4 separate regions of the Homo sapiens genome follow, and regions 1, 2 and 3 are each linked to region 4. The links are contacts of gene promoters, found by promoter capture Hi-C in blood cells and fetal thymus (Javierre and others, 2016). All regions are on one chromosome and are shown on one strand. The core of a region is centred on a gene start or on the middle of the fragment in contact, and the rest is flanking DNA. Distances in the headings are between cores, read along the strand shown.

Region 1 (3,032 bases), core at 166-2,665, 410 kb before region 4:
ATGTCTCAATCTCCCTCTGGCTTTGATTGTCTAATCTTGACTACCATGGGTAGCTAGGAGAAGCTGTAAAGACCTCATCCCAAGAGCTCTTCAAAATAGGAATAGTCACGCTTCTGTCATGGACTTCCTGGGCCCTGGGTGAAGGTTTAAATGACAGGTTTCTTTCCTGTTTGAGATGCTCTGCTTTTGACATCCCATGTCTGAAATTAGGAAACCAGAATGCATTCAAGTGACAGAGAGAAAAGAGGCTTTCCTTGACCCCCATATAAATTAGGTCCTCCTCTCTGATATTACTTCTCACAGCTGTGCTATTCAAAGTGTTCTGTGGGCCAGGAGTGTCAGTATTACTCGAAAGCTGCCAGAAATACAGAATGTTGGCCAGGTGCGGTGGCTCACGCTTGTAATCCCAGCACTTTGGGAGGCCCAGGCGGGCAGATCACAAGAGGTCAGGAGTTCAAGACCAGCCTGGTCAACATGGCGAAATCCCGTCTCTACTAAAAATACAAAAATTAGCCGGGGGTGGTGGTGGGCCCCTGTAGTCCCAGCTACTGGGGAGGCTGAGGTAGAGGAATTGCTCGAATCCAGGAGATGGAGGCTACAGTGAGCCGAGATTGCGCCACTGCACTCCAGCCTGGGTGACAGAGTGAGGCTCCATCTCAAAAAGAAAAAAATGCAGAATGTTAAACTCCCCCCAAATCTGCAGAATCAGAATTTGCATTTTAACGAGACTCCCAGGTGATTCATATGCACATTGAAGTTCTAACAGCACTACCTTAAAGCACTATGATTCTTTTCCTCCATAGCTCTTGCCACAACCTGCAATTCTAATTACACATTTATTTATATTTTTTAAATGGCTGCCTTAATGACTAAAGCATAAAATCCATAGGATGTCTTTTAGTGACTAACGTAGTTCCTACCACAGACCAGGTGCTCATTCAAGGTGTGCTGCATGAATGATTCTCTAGGACTTCCCGAACTGCTAGCAGCCTCTGCAATGATGGCTGTACCAGGTTTGCTATTCTAGCCTCTCTCACTGTCCCTGTATATGTCCCTGGGCAGCTTGATGAATTTGATGATTGTGGTAAGACATTTCAATGCAGATATTTTTCTTAGTGCATTTGCACATCATGCTAATCAATGGTCACGCTTGGCAGTAAGTTGTAAGTTGTTTATTAAATTTTAAAATGTTGTGTGTTGTCTCACAAGGGCAACATAAAGGGGAATTTTGTGATATCAAGTTTTCCTGCAAACTGCATGCATAACTGAAAGACTACAAAAACTTAGCTTTGTTAGGTTAAAAGCTTTCAACTAAGGCAACAAAGTCGTAGACTGTTACAGTAGGAAGGGCCTTCCAGGACAAGTTTGCCTCCCTTCCCCTGAGAAGGTAGGGCCCAAATGTTTAAGCTGACTTCCCCCATCTCCAGATTGGTGCTGTGCCAGGGCTTTGCCTTCAGGAGACCTCCTTGACTCACTACCAACCTCTTGCACTAGAGAAGAGATCCATTCATAAGAAAACAAGCTTTCAGCGGAAGGCAAATGACAGACCTCCCAGGGAAATGTTACAATAATAGGGGAACTCCAGATGGTCCTAGTGTTCATACAGAACACTAAGAAAATAAGCTGTGGGCGGCTGCTAATTTCTTGCTTTGGTAGAGGTTAGGAAGTTGGTTTTTTCGCATACACACGCTCACACCTCTCTAGGTCTTTACTAATATTTTAATTCAATGCAATACAGGAGATTCCAACCTGGGCAGGTCAAAAGATGAATAAAATACTTCATTCCTTATTGGCAGAATATTGTATGGGTGTCTCCATGGCTGGAGAGAAAGGGGAGGGACAATCAGGGTGTGAAACTTAGTGTCTGAAGAATTTATTAGGGGAAAAGAACTGTGCCTCTCTGCTTCTGTTAACTCCTTGTTGAGAGTCCTTGAACTAGAACCTCCCTTTAGTCACCTTCAATCCCCAGCCCAGGATTCCCTCCTTCAAAAGACAATCTGTTTCTATCAACCTCTTATTTGTGTAAATATTTATGTATATATTTATTACAGAATAAATAATATACTATGTAAATGTTTAAATATATAATATGCATTTGTATGTATACTACATGTGTATACATATTTGTATATTTAAATATAAACTTGTAATAAATCCATAAGGATGGGGACCCAATTTAATTATGTATGGTGTCCTCACAATGCTTGGCATATAAACACACAATTAATTCAGAATTTCCAACCACAGGAGACATAGAGATGTACCTTCCCAGGTATGTTTACAACATACGTTCACAGATGAATCAAACATGGAAAAAAAAAAAACACATCTACTTTTATGATATACTTGATTATTCTCATGTTGACCAGAAGGAAAAAAAAAGAAAAAAACACCCAAACATATGGAGGGGGGAAAAGCACCAGATTGGGAGTTGAGTCCTGGCTCTAGCCGAGTGTGATAGCTCACACCTGTAATCCCAGCACTTTGGGAGGCTGAGGCGGGTGGACCACAAGGTCAGGAGTTCGAGACCAACCTGGCCAATATGGTGAAACCCTGTGTCTACTAAAAATACAAAACTTAGCTGGGTGTGGTGGTGGGTGCCTGTAGTCCCAGCTACTCTGGAGACTGAGGCAGGAGAATCACCTGAACTGGGAGGCGGAGGTTGCAGTGAGCCAAGATAGTGCCACTGCACTCCAGCCTGGCAACAGAGCAAGACTCCTTTTTTTAATTAGCTGAGTGTAGTGGTGTGCACCTGTACTCCCAGCTACTCAGGAAGCTGAGGCAAGAGGATCGCTTGAACTCAGGAGGATGAAGCTGCAGTGACCCATGATCATACCACTGCACTCCAGCATGGGTGACAGAGTAAAACTTTGTCTAAAAAAAAAAAAAAAGTCCCAGCTCTGGTCCCTGATCTTCTATAAATTAACTATGTGGCCCTAGGCAAGTCATTTTATCTCACTCAACCCCGTGTCTCTTGCCTGTGGAACGGGGACAGTAATCCTCATCTTGCATTTCTAATAGATTGTCAAACA
Region 2 (2,796 bases), core at 110-2,609, 390 kb before region 4:
GAGACCAGCCTGACCAACATGGAGAAACCCCGTCTCTACTAAAAATCAAAATTAGCCAGGCGTGGTGGCACATGCCTGTAATCCCAGCTACTCGGGAGGCTGAGGCAGGAGAATCGCTTGAACCCAGGAGAAGGAGGTTGCAGTGAGCCGAGATTGCACCACTGCAACTCCAGCCTGGGCAACAAGAGTGAAACTCAATCTCAAAAAAAAAGAAAGAAAAAAAGAATTTTCAGGGCTCAGGAGATAAGAATGCCTATTAGAGAAAGGTGAAATTTTTAGAAAGCAGAATCTACCTGTGCCATCTGAGAACATGGAAGGAAAAAAAAATAAATCTTTGCTTACTTTATTGAACCCCTTTTCTGAGCAAGGTGTGGTATATTTGCTGTAGAATCCATCACCCTTCCTATCTCTGAGATATCTATATGCTATTCTAGTCATTTTGTGATTAGAAATAGTGAGATTAACCTTAGAAAGTTTTTTAAGTTTTATTTTATTTTTGATTGACACAAAAATAGTGTACATATTTAGGTAGCACAGTGTGATATTTCAATACATGTATACATTGTGCAATAGTGAACATATCCCTTACTTTAAACAGTTATTTCTTTGAGGTGAGAACATTCAAAATCCTCTCTTCTAGATATTTTGAAATACACTAGAAAGTTTAAATCAAACCTTGGTATACCTTAGAATCCTGAAATCCCAGGCCACTTCCTAGAGCAATTAAATTAGAATCTCTGGATTTAGAACCCAGGCATCAGGATTATTTTAAGCTCCCAAATTTAAGCCAAATATTAAGAGTCAGTGGTTTAAATCTTTGCTGTTATGTCCTGGTGCCTGGTATCACCAGAGAGCTTGTTAAAAATGCAGGCATCTCATACATACCTAAAAACTGGAACAGAATCTGCATTTTAATATGATCCAAGAGATTCAGGTGCACCTTACAATCTGAAGAACACTAGTTGGTTGACTTTTTCTGGTAAGTGGAGAAGATTGCTGGTAATCCGTTATGTTTCTCTGTTTCCCCCAAGTGGACTTTCATGAATTGGCTTGGTCTTCCTTGTCTGCTGCTTATGCAAATGTGAGGGTCTAAACACTACAAAACCATCAAGTCAACGTGATGGTATTCATTTGTAATGATCACCACTGAATTTTTAACAACTGCTTTTGATCCAACTGTCTCCCTTGGGAATATTGGGCAACACTAGGAATAATCTGGACAACATGTTGAAAGCTTTGGATGCAGTTTAGAAACTTCTATGGGGGCTGTACTTTCCCTATAGCCAAGGAAAGAGAAAAAAACAAGTCTGAGGGTGGCAGATGGGAAAGAATAGTGGCCTTGGCAACTGGAAGCCAGTTTCAATCTGAGCTGAAGCAATTACTAACTCTATGACCTTGGCAAGTCACATGGACTTTGTAAACTTAAATTTTCTCAGCTGTACAATGGGAAGCTGTTGGGAGAACAAACACATAGAATAAGCTTGGAAAGTGTACAACTCTTGGGGTATTTTATCATATTCAGTGTCTGTGAAGGAGTTAGACCTTGGGGAGAGGAGTAGGAAAAAATGAATCAATGCAAGTTTGAGAAAAGTGAAAGTTCCTCAAATCCACTGAAGCCTATTCCCATCTGCATTCAGAAAAGCCAGCCATTGGATCAACAAAGGTCTCTGTCAGGCCAACTCTCAAAGGATGGTTTCATCCTGCAGGGAAAACTGGACTAGATAACCAACTGACTGTTTGCGAGATGCAGTATCAAGGTCCTCTCCCTGTGCCTCTCTAGAAGCAGCACTGATTGCACTGCAAATGAACACTTTTCTCACTTAGAAATGAGCACTTAGAAGACAAGAAGAATCCATCTCCAAATCCCAGCACCCAAATCAGTGTCCTACACAAAGTCAGCACTCAGGAAATGTTTAGATTTCACTTGCAACAGGAAGAGGGAATTACCAGGCAGGGATATCAGCTAAACTAGTCAGGAACAAGCTGATTTGAAGGCTGATCCTCCTTCACAACCAGGAGGCTCCAAACAAAAACCAGCTGAAGTATTTCATCATTTCCTTTCCATTGCTAGGGACGCAGATGACCTAACCTCCTTGACATTCTGACTATGCCTTCCGTTCTCACAATGAGTCTCATTTTACCAGCTGGCCTGATGCAGTCAGCGCATGGCACAGTACTCAAGGGAAGAAAGGTCACAATCCATCACAGGATCAATACAATGGGATGAGTAAACAGCAAGAAAACACTGAAGGAGGCTTCATTTCTACCACCAACATTACATTCATACACTCACACAGTCCTCAATTGCATCTGGTCTTTTCATCCTCCTCATTCATTACTTTGATGTGTTTACTTAAACCGCTTTATGTTACGTAAATAGATATAATTACTATCACTTACTGAACGCTTGCTTGCCAGGTTTCAGGCACCACATGGAAGCCTTCAAATACTGTAGTCTACTGCATCTCACCCTTATGAGATAGAGATGACCATTCCCATGTTGCAGATGAGGAAACAGAGGCTCGAAGAAATGCTTAAGTATGTCTAAGTTTCAGCAGCTCATGAGCTGAAGAGCTAAGATGTAACCACTGCAGTTTGGCTCCAGAGCTATATTTCTAACCACACTACACTGCACTACCCTGAGGCTACTTGACCTGGTGCCTGCTGATTCCTTTGTCCACAAGGTCCTTGCCCTTCATTCACATCTTGTTAATTTGACCTCATTCATAAAATTTCAACTCAGACATTATTGCTCAAGAACCATTCCGCTAAATTAGACATGCAACCTGGACCTTG
Region 3 (2,978 bases), core at 299-2,798, 450 kb before region 4:
AACAGGAATCAGAATGGCAATCAGTCATCTGCCAGAAATGCTAGAAGTCAGAAAATAACTGAAGAAAGCCTTCAAAATTCTGACAAAATATTTTATCTGGAATACATTACTTAGCTAAGCTATCAAAAGACATAAGAGGAACATATAGACATTTCCAGACATAGAAAGACTCGGAAAATTTACCTCCCTTTTACACCCTCTTTTTTAGGAGGTTACTTGAGAATATCCTCCAGCTAAACCAAGGAATGAAACAAGAAAGAGGAAGTGCGGAGGTCCAAAAAACAAGGGGTCTAAAACAGGAAAACAGTGGGGGGAAGTTCCAGGATGCCAGCAGGGTAGGACACAAAGAGAACCAGCAGTACAGATAGCAACGCAGGCAAGGGGGCTCTAGGACAGGGCTTTGGGAAAGTAAAGCATTACAAAAAAATAATATCTGGTCTATTTTATCATTTTGATTAGGAGTTGACAAACTGCAGTCCGTGGACCAAATCCTGCCTACCACCTGCTTTTGTAAATAAAGGTTTTTTGGAACATGGCCAGCTGCCCCCCTTCATTTACATATTGTCTGCAGCTCAGTTGCATATTGCCCATGACTTTAACAGCTGAGTTGAGTAGTTGCAACAGAGGCTGTCTGGACCAAAAAGTCTAAAAATATTTACTATATGATCTTTTATAGAAAGAGTTTGCCAACGCCTGATTTAAAAGGAAAAACTAATTAGTGATCTGATGGAATGGGTGAAAAAAAGATAAAAATAAATGTAGAACAAACAACACCAACTGGAGGTAAACAGGCAATTTTAGGAAGAATAAAGTTGGACAAGAAAATATATGATCCTAGTATACTACTTGGACTCTGCAAATAATTTTTGTATAATCATAAAAACATAAACAATGATTTGGATTTATCCAAAAATTGTGAAATGAATATTAAAGCAAGAGGAGAAATGAAGAGATGTATAGAAGATCTAAATTTTCCTTTTATAGCAGAAAATCAGTAGAAGTCTAATATTAATAAATCAATATATAACAATATAAGCATATTTGCTAGAAATACTGAGGCATGTATTAGAAGAGACAGCTAGCACAGTTCCAAGTGATTTCTCTGGAGAGCAGGACCAAGTGAGGTAGAGATTCATAGGCAGAGCACTGCTGTTTTCATTATAAACCTTCAGCATGTTTTTTAACTTGATAAAGTGGCAGTTAATTTCCAAAAATACTCAATCTCAAAAATTATAAAATATGATAGGTATTATGAAGCCCTAAAACGAGGTACCATGAGAGAGAATAATGGAGGTAGATAAACTATAAGCTTACTTTAGTCTGCAGGGAAGGTGGTTCTAAGAAGATGACATTTAAACTGAGAACTTGAAAGCTAGCCAGTCAGCCAGTTTAGGGGAATGGGCCTCCAGGTAGAAGGACCAGCATGTGCAAAGGCTTGGGTGTGAGAGCGAGCTCCGTTGGGACTTAAAGGATCTGAAGTCGTTACGATCAGCTGAAGGGGAGAGTGTGCCTGCAGAAGCCCTCAGGAGCAAACTTGCAAAGACAGCAGGAAAGAGACCATGAAGCATTTGTACCCTATCCAAAAAGCAACGCTGAGTCACTGGATGATGCCATAAACACAAGAATGTGTCGCAAGACTGAGACCAACATTTGGCATATGTTTCTTCCTTTTAAGATTTTTGCCTATAAACAGATTCCAGTCCATAACCTAACAAAAGAAGTTACCGTACTGTCAGAAAGTGGAGCCAGACTGTATGTGTTTCCTGTAGGATGACATGTCAAGCTTAGACATAAGCCAGCAAGGGGACCTCCCCAATGTCCTTGCTGGATTTGGAAGTGGCCATGTGCTACTCAGGGATTGCCTGCTCTCATCAACTATGTGACAGCTTCTTCTTCTCAAGTAAACTCCTACTTTGCTCCTTATACATACCCACTACTTTCCCTTAATCCCTCCTGGAATTTTGGATGCAAGATTTCCTACAATCTCTCCTTGGGCTCCTATGGGCCTCTCTTTGACTAAATCCAAAGTCTTGGTCTTGGCCATCACTGCATTGGCTTCCTAAATGCCCTCTTTATCCGCTCCTCATTCTGTTTCAGATGTCTCAATACAGATGAGTCTCTCAAGGAAGGACCCAAGAGATACTCTCTCCCTACCTCCATGAGGAAAATGGAACCCAGGGAGAGCAGCAAGCTGATAGCAGAATCAGGATCACAATGCAGATTGCATTGCTTTGCTTGTGAGGAGACCCCTTCAAGACTGCTGAAAAGAAGCCATCACATGCCCTTGGCCAGAAGCCTGGCATAGTGAAATTCCGAGAGGTGGAGTTCCTTTTTTATTTTTTTCTATTATGATTTTCCTCTATTAAAGAAATAGCAATTAATATTTGAGAAAATGTGCTCTAATTACATTTTGCAATCCATGCCCTTGGGTTAAAGTGAACCCAGATGTAATTATTTTTGTGAAATAGCTCTTAACTCTCTGCATATTAAGTCTTGCTTCCTTTAAAAGCAGCAGGATGCCTTCACATCATTGCTGTTGGCATTTTCTTGTCAGAATTACTAAGGATTAATTACAAATTACTTTTATTGCACTGGGAGTAGGCAGCACAGAATCAACAATGTCTCCTAAACGTTAATGTAGTCAGTAGTTTTCAGTCATTTTGGTCTCAAAACTCCGTAGCCTTTTAAAAATTGAGGACTCCAAAAAACTTGTGTGCATACGGCTTTATCTATGAATATTATTAGAAATAAAAACTGAGAAACTTAAAAAATCTGTACTTATTAATTTATTTTAAAACAACAGCAATAATCCTGTTGCAGTGGGATTCATGGGTTATTATTATTTTAAAATAAATTAATAGGTAAAGAGTTACAGAAATAGTTTAACATATTTTTATGAAAAAATAACATTTAAAAAAATGCTAAGAGCAACATTGGTTTTAGAGTTTTGTAAATCTCTTCTATCTCTGGCTTAATAT
Region 4 (2,917 bases), core at 44-2,543:
GCTTCAAAAACGTTGAATGAAAAGCGACCAAATAAATAAATAAATAAATAAATAAATAAATAAATAAATAAATGAATGATCTATCCTTCTGGGTCCACCACAAACCAAATCCTCCAGGTAATCCTCCATCTTGCCCTACCCTGGATAGATGTCAGCTGGCTCTGCAATGGAAATTCTGGAAGACTTTTACGAAAAATACATAGAAGAGTAGCTTAGGAGAGGCAGCTCAGGTTGGAAGGGATGTGTGTGAGGTAGGGTGTGTGTGTGTATGTGTGTGTGTGTGTGTGTAGCACTATGAAGCTCCCCATTAGAATAAAAGCACAGGATTTTACTTAAATCTTATTTGGGGGATTGGGTGGGTGACGACCGACTCCAGGGCACACCTGGGTGTATCTTCCCATTTTGCCTAGGGATGGGAGAGCATAGAAGAGATTTTTCTCCAAGCCACTTCAAATATGTATATTTTTAATTTCTATTTTGAGATTGTAGATCCAAATGCAGTTCTAAGAAATAATACATAGACATGCCATGTACCCTTCACCCAGTTTCCCCCGATGTTGACACGATGGCAACCAGGACATTGACATTGATAAAATCCACCCACCTTACTCAGATTTCACCAGTTTTATATGCGCTCATTTGTACGTGTGTGCGCGAGCGTGGGGTGTACACTTTATATAATATTTCTGAAAGTGGCTTTTCCCTTGCAATGGAGACTGGGAAGGGGTCCAGCCTGATCCATCCCTGCCACGGAGTTGACTCCGGCAGACAGCAGTCTATGCTTGTATTCGTCTCTCGCACACAGTAGGTGGCCAACGACCGTCCACATAAACCCTGGAATTTGTCATGTCAGGGCGCGTGCAGGAGGGGAGCGCCACATTGTAAGGAAGAAAACCGAGACTGAAGTGCCCAGTATTTTGGAAGCAAAAATCAAACAAACAAAAAACTTGACGATTTCCCCCCGAATTGTGAATTAGCTAGCCGGCTAATTACTCCAAAGCGATCCTGGTGTCGGCACTCGCTGCGACCGCCGAAGAGCGCTGTTTCTGAGCCCCGCTCCCGGCTCTGCCGGCGGGGTAGGGGACGCGGGGGCTCCTCCCACCCCTACCGCCGCGTTCACCCCTTTCTTCCCTGGGGCTGGACTGTTTCACCCCGTCTCCAGGCAACGGCCAGGCGCACCGGGCGGGACGTCATTTCCTGAGGAGCCCGTGGGGAGGGGGCGGGCAGGAGGAGGGACGAGGGGGCGGGGCCCGGGCCGGGCTGGCAACGAGACGGCGTCGGAACTCGCTGGAAGACTCGGCCCGGGTGGCTCAACAGTTCGCAAAGTCCGGGCTTGCGGCCGGGCGGCGCAGAGGCGCGGAGGCTCCCCGGGCGGCTGCATCCCGGGGCTGCCCCGGACATGCCCCGCACCCCTTGTCGGACGCCCGCGCCGCTTCACCGGCTGCCACTCCCCGGAGTGCTCTGGGACTAGAGCGCCCTCCGCCCCAACTTCTGACTTTGGGGTCCCCCAGCCCTAGAGGAACGGGCGCCCGGCTGGGGGAGCCCCGGGCATGGTGTGACGGGGCAGTCAGGTCAGCTTTGCGGCGCCCCCAAACTCCAGCCACCCGTCGTCTCCGTGCCCTCCAGAATGTAGCTGCTGACCCCGCGCCCCCCGGACTCCAGCAGCAGTCTCCGCCACCTCCGGGCTCCAGCAGCCAACTCTTGTGTCTCTCAGGAACCCGCCGACGTCTCCGCGTCCCCCGGATTCCAGGTTCGCGACCCCCGCCGTCTTCGCGCCTCCGGGACTCTAGCAGCGGTCTCCGCGACCCCCTAGGATCCAGCCACTGTACCCGTGCTCCCCAAACCCAGGCTCCAGCCGTCGTCTCCGCGCTCCCGGGGATCCAGCTGTCGCGCCAGTACCCGCGAGGACAGCGGCACCGCCCACACCCCGCGCGCTCAGAGCCCGGCCGGGCCTCGGCGTGGAGATGAACGCGCCGCTGGACGGCCTGTCGGTGAGCTCGTCCTCCACCGGCTCGCTGGGCTCGGCGGCCGGGGCGGGCGGCGGCGGGGGCGCGGGGCTGCGGTTACTGTCTGCCAACGTGCGCCAGCTGCACCAAGCGCTGACCGCGCTGCTGAGCGAGGCGGAGCGGGAGCAGTTCACCCACTGCCTGAACGCTTACCACGCGCGCCGCAACGTCTTCGACCTGGTGCGCACCCTGCGCGTGCTGCTGGACAGTCCGGTCAAGCGGCGCCTGCTGCCCATGCTTCGTCTGGTCATCCCGCGCTCCGACCAGCTGCTCTTCGACCAATACACGGCCGAGGGCCTCTACCTGCCCGCCACCACCCCCTACAGGCAGCCCGCCTGGGGCGGCCCCGACAGCGCGGGGCCAGGGGAGGTGCGCCTGGTGAGTTTGCGGCGTGCCAAGGCCCACGAGGGCTTGGGCTTCAGCATCCGTGGGGGCTCGGAGCACGGCGTGGGCATCTACGTGTCTCTGGTGGAACCAGGCTCTCTAGCTGAGAAGGAAGGACTGCGGGTCGGGGACCAGATTCTGCGCGTCAACGACAAATCCCTGGCCCGGGTGACCCACGCGGAGGCCGTCAAGGTAAGGCTGTGGTTTGGAGAGAGTCTGGGGCAGAGTATGGACAGAGTGGCACAGCTTTTTCAGTAACTCCATGCTGTGTGTCCTTAGATGAATCACTTGGCCTTTCTGGGCTTTTTTTTTTTTTTTAATACTTTAAAACAGGAATGTATAGCTTACAGAGCAAATAGCTCTCAGGCACTGGGAACGTAGTTCTGCACAGACATGGCCCTTGCCTTTGTGAGGCTTAAAAGCTAGTGCAGGTGATAGTAACAAATACTTGAGCAAATGTGTGGTTACAATGTGTGAATAGGGCTGTGGATTCTTATGAGCATTAAAAGAGATAAAATCTCTGCTTG

The links. Contacts are between HindIII fragments. The CHiCAGO score rates a contact against its expected background, and 5 or more counts as called.
Region 1: a contact is called between a fragment that was not itself captured here and the fragment with the promoter of WHRN in region 4, in 2 of 17 cell types (naive B cells and total B cells). The highest score is 9.0, in naive B cells.
Region 2: a fragment that was not itself captured here is called in contact with the fragment with the promoter of WHRN in region 4 in 1 of 17 cell types (naive B cells); the score reaches 7.5 in naive B cells.
Region 3: a fragment that was not itself captured here is called in contact with the fragment with the promoter of WHRN in region 4 in 1 of 17 cell types (naive B cells); the score reaches 5.7 in naive B cells.

Annotation. Positions count from the first base shown.
Region 1 is chr9:114,918,313-114,921,344 of GRCh38, reverse strand. All of the region lies in intron 1 of TNFSF8 (TNF superfamily member 8), which reads left to right. Among named protein-coding and RNA genes, the nearest start is that of TNFSF8, 11 kb to the left of the region's middle. The HindIII fragment of the contact is 218 bases long and covers 1,307-1,524 here.
Region 2 is chr9:114,894,325-114,897,120 of GRCh38, reverse strand. It overlaps a transcript of TNFSF8 not described here. Among named protein-coding and RNA genes, the nearest start is that of TNFSF8, 35 kb to the left of the region's middle. RefSeq lists an enhancer at 2,084-2,796. The HindIII fragment of the contact is 246 bases long and covers 1,237-1,482 here.
Region 3 is chr9:114,952,743-114,955,720 of GRCh38, reverse strand. No RefSeq gene overlaps it. Among named protein-coding and RNA genes, the nearest start is that of TNFSF8, 24 kb to the right of the region's middle. The HindIII fragment of the contact is 474 bases long and covers 1,312-1,785 here.
Region 4 is chr9:114,503,849-114,506,765 of GRCh38, reverse strand. WHRN (whirlin) reads left to right here and starts at 1,293. Exons shown (of 12, transcript NM_015404.4): 1 at 1,293-2,582. The coding sequence starts at 1,965. RefSeq lists a silencer at 1,199-1,498 and enhancers at 1,023-1,913, 1,914-2,804. The HindIII fragment of the contact is 12,008 bases long and covers 1-2,917 here.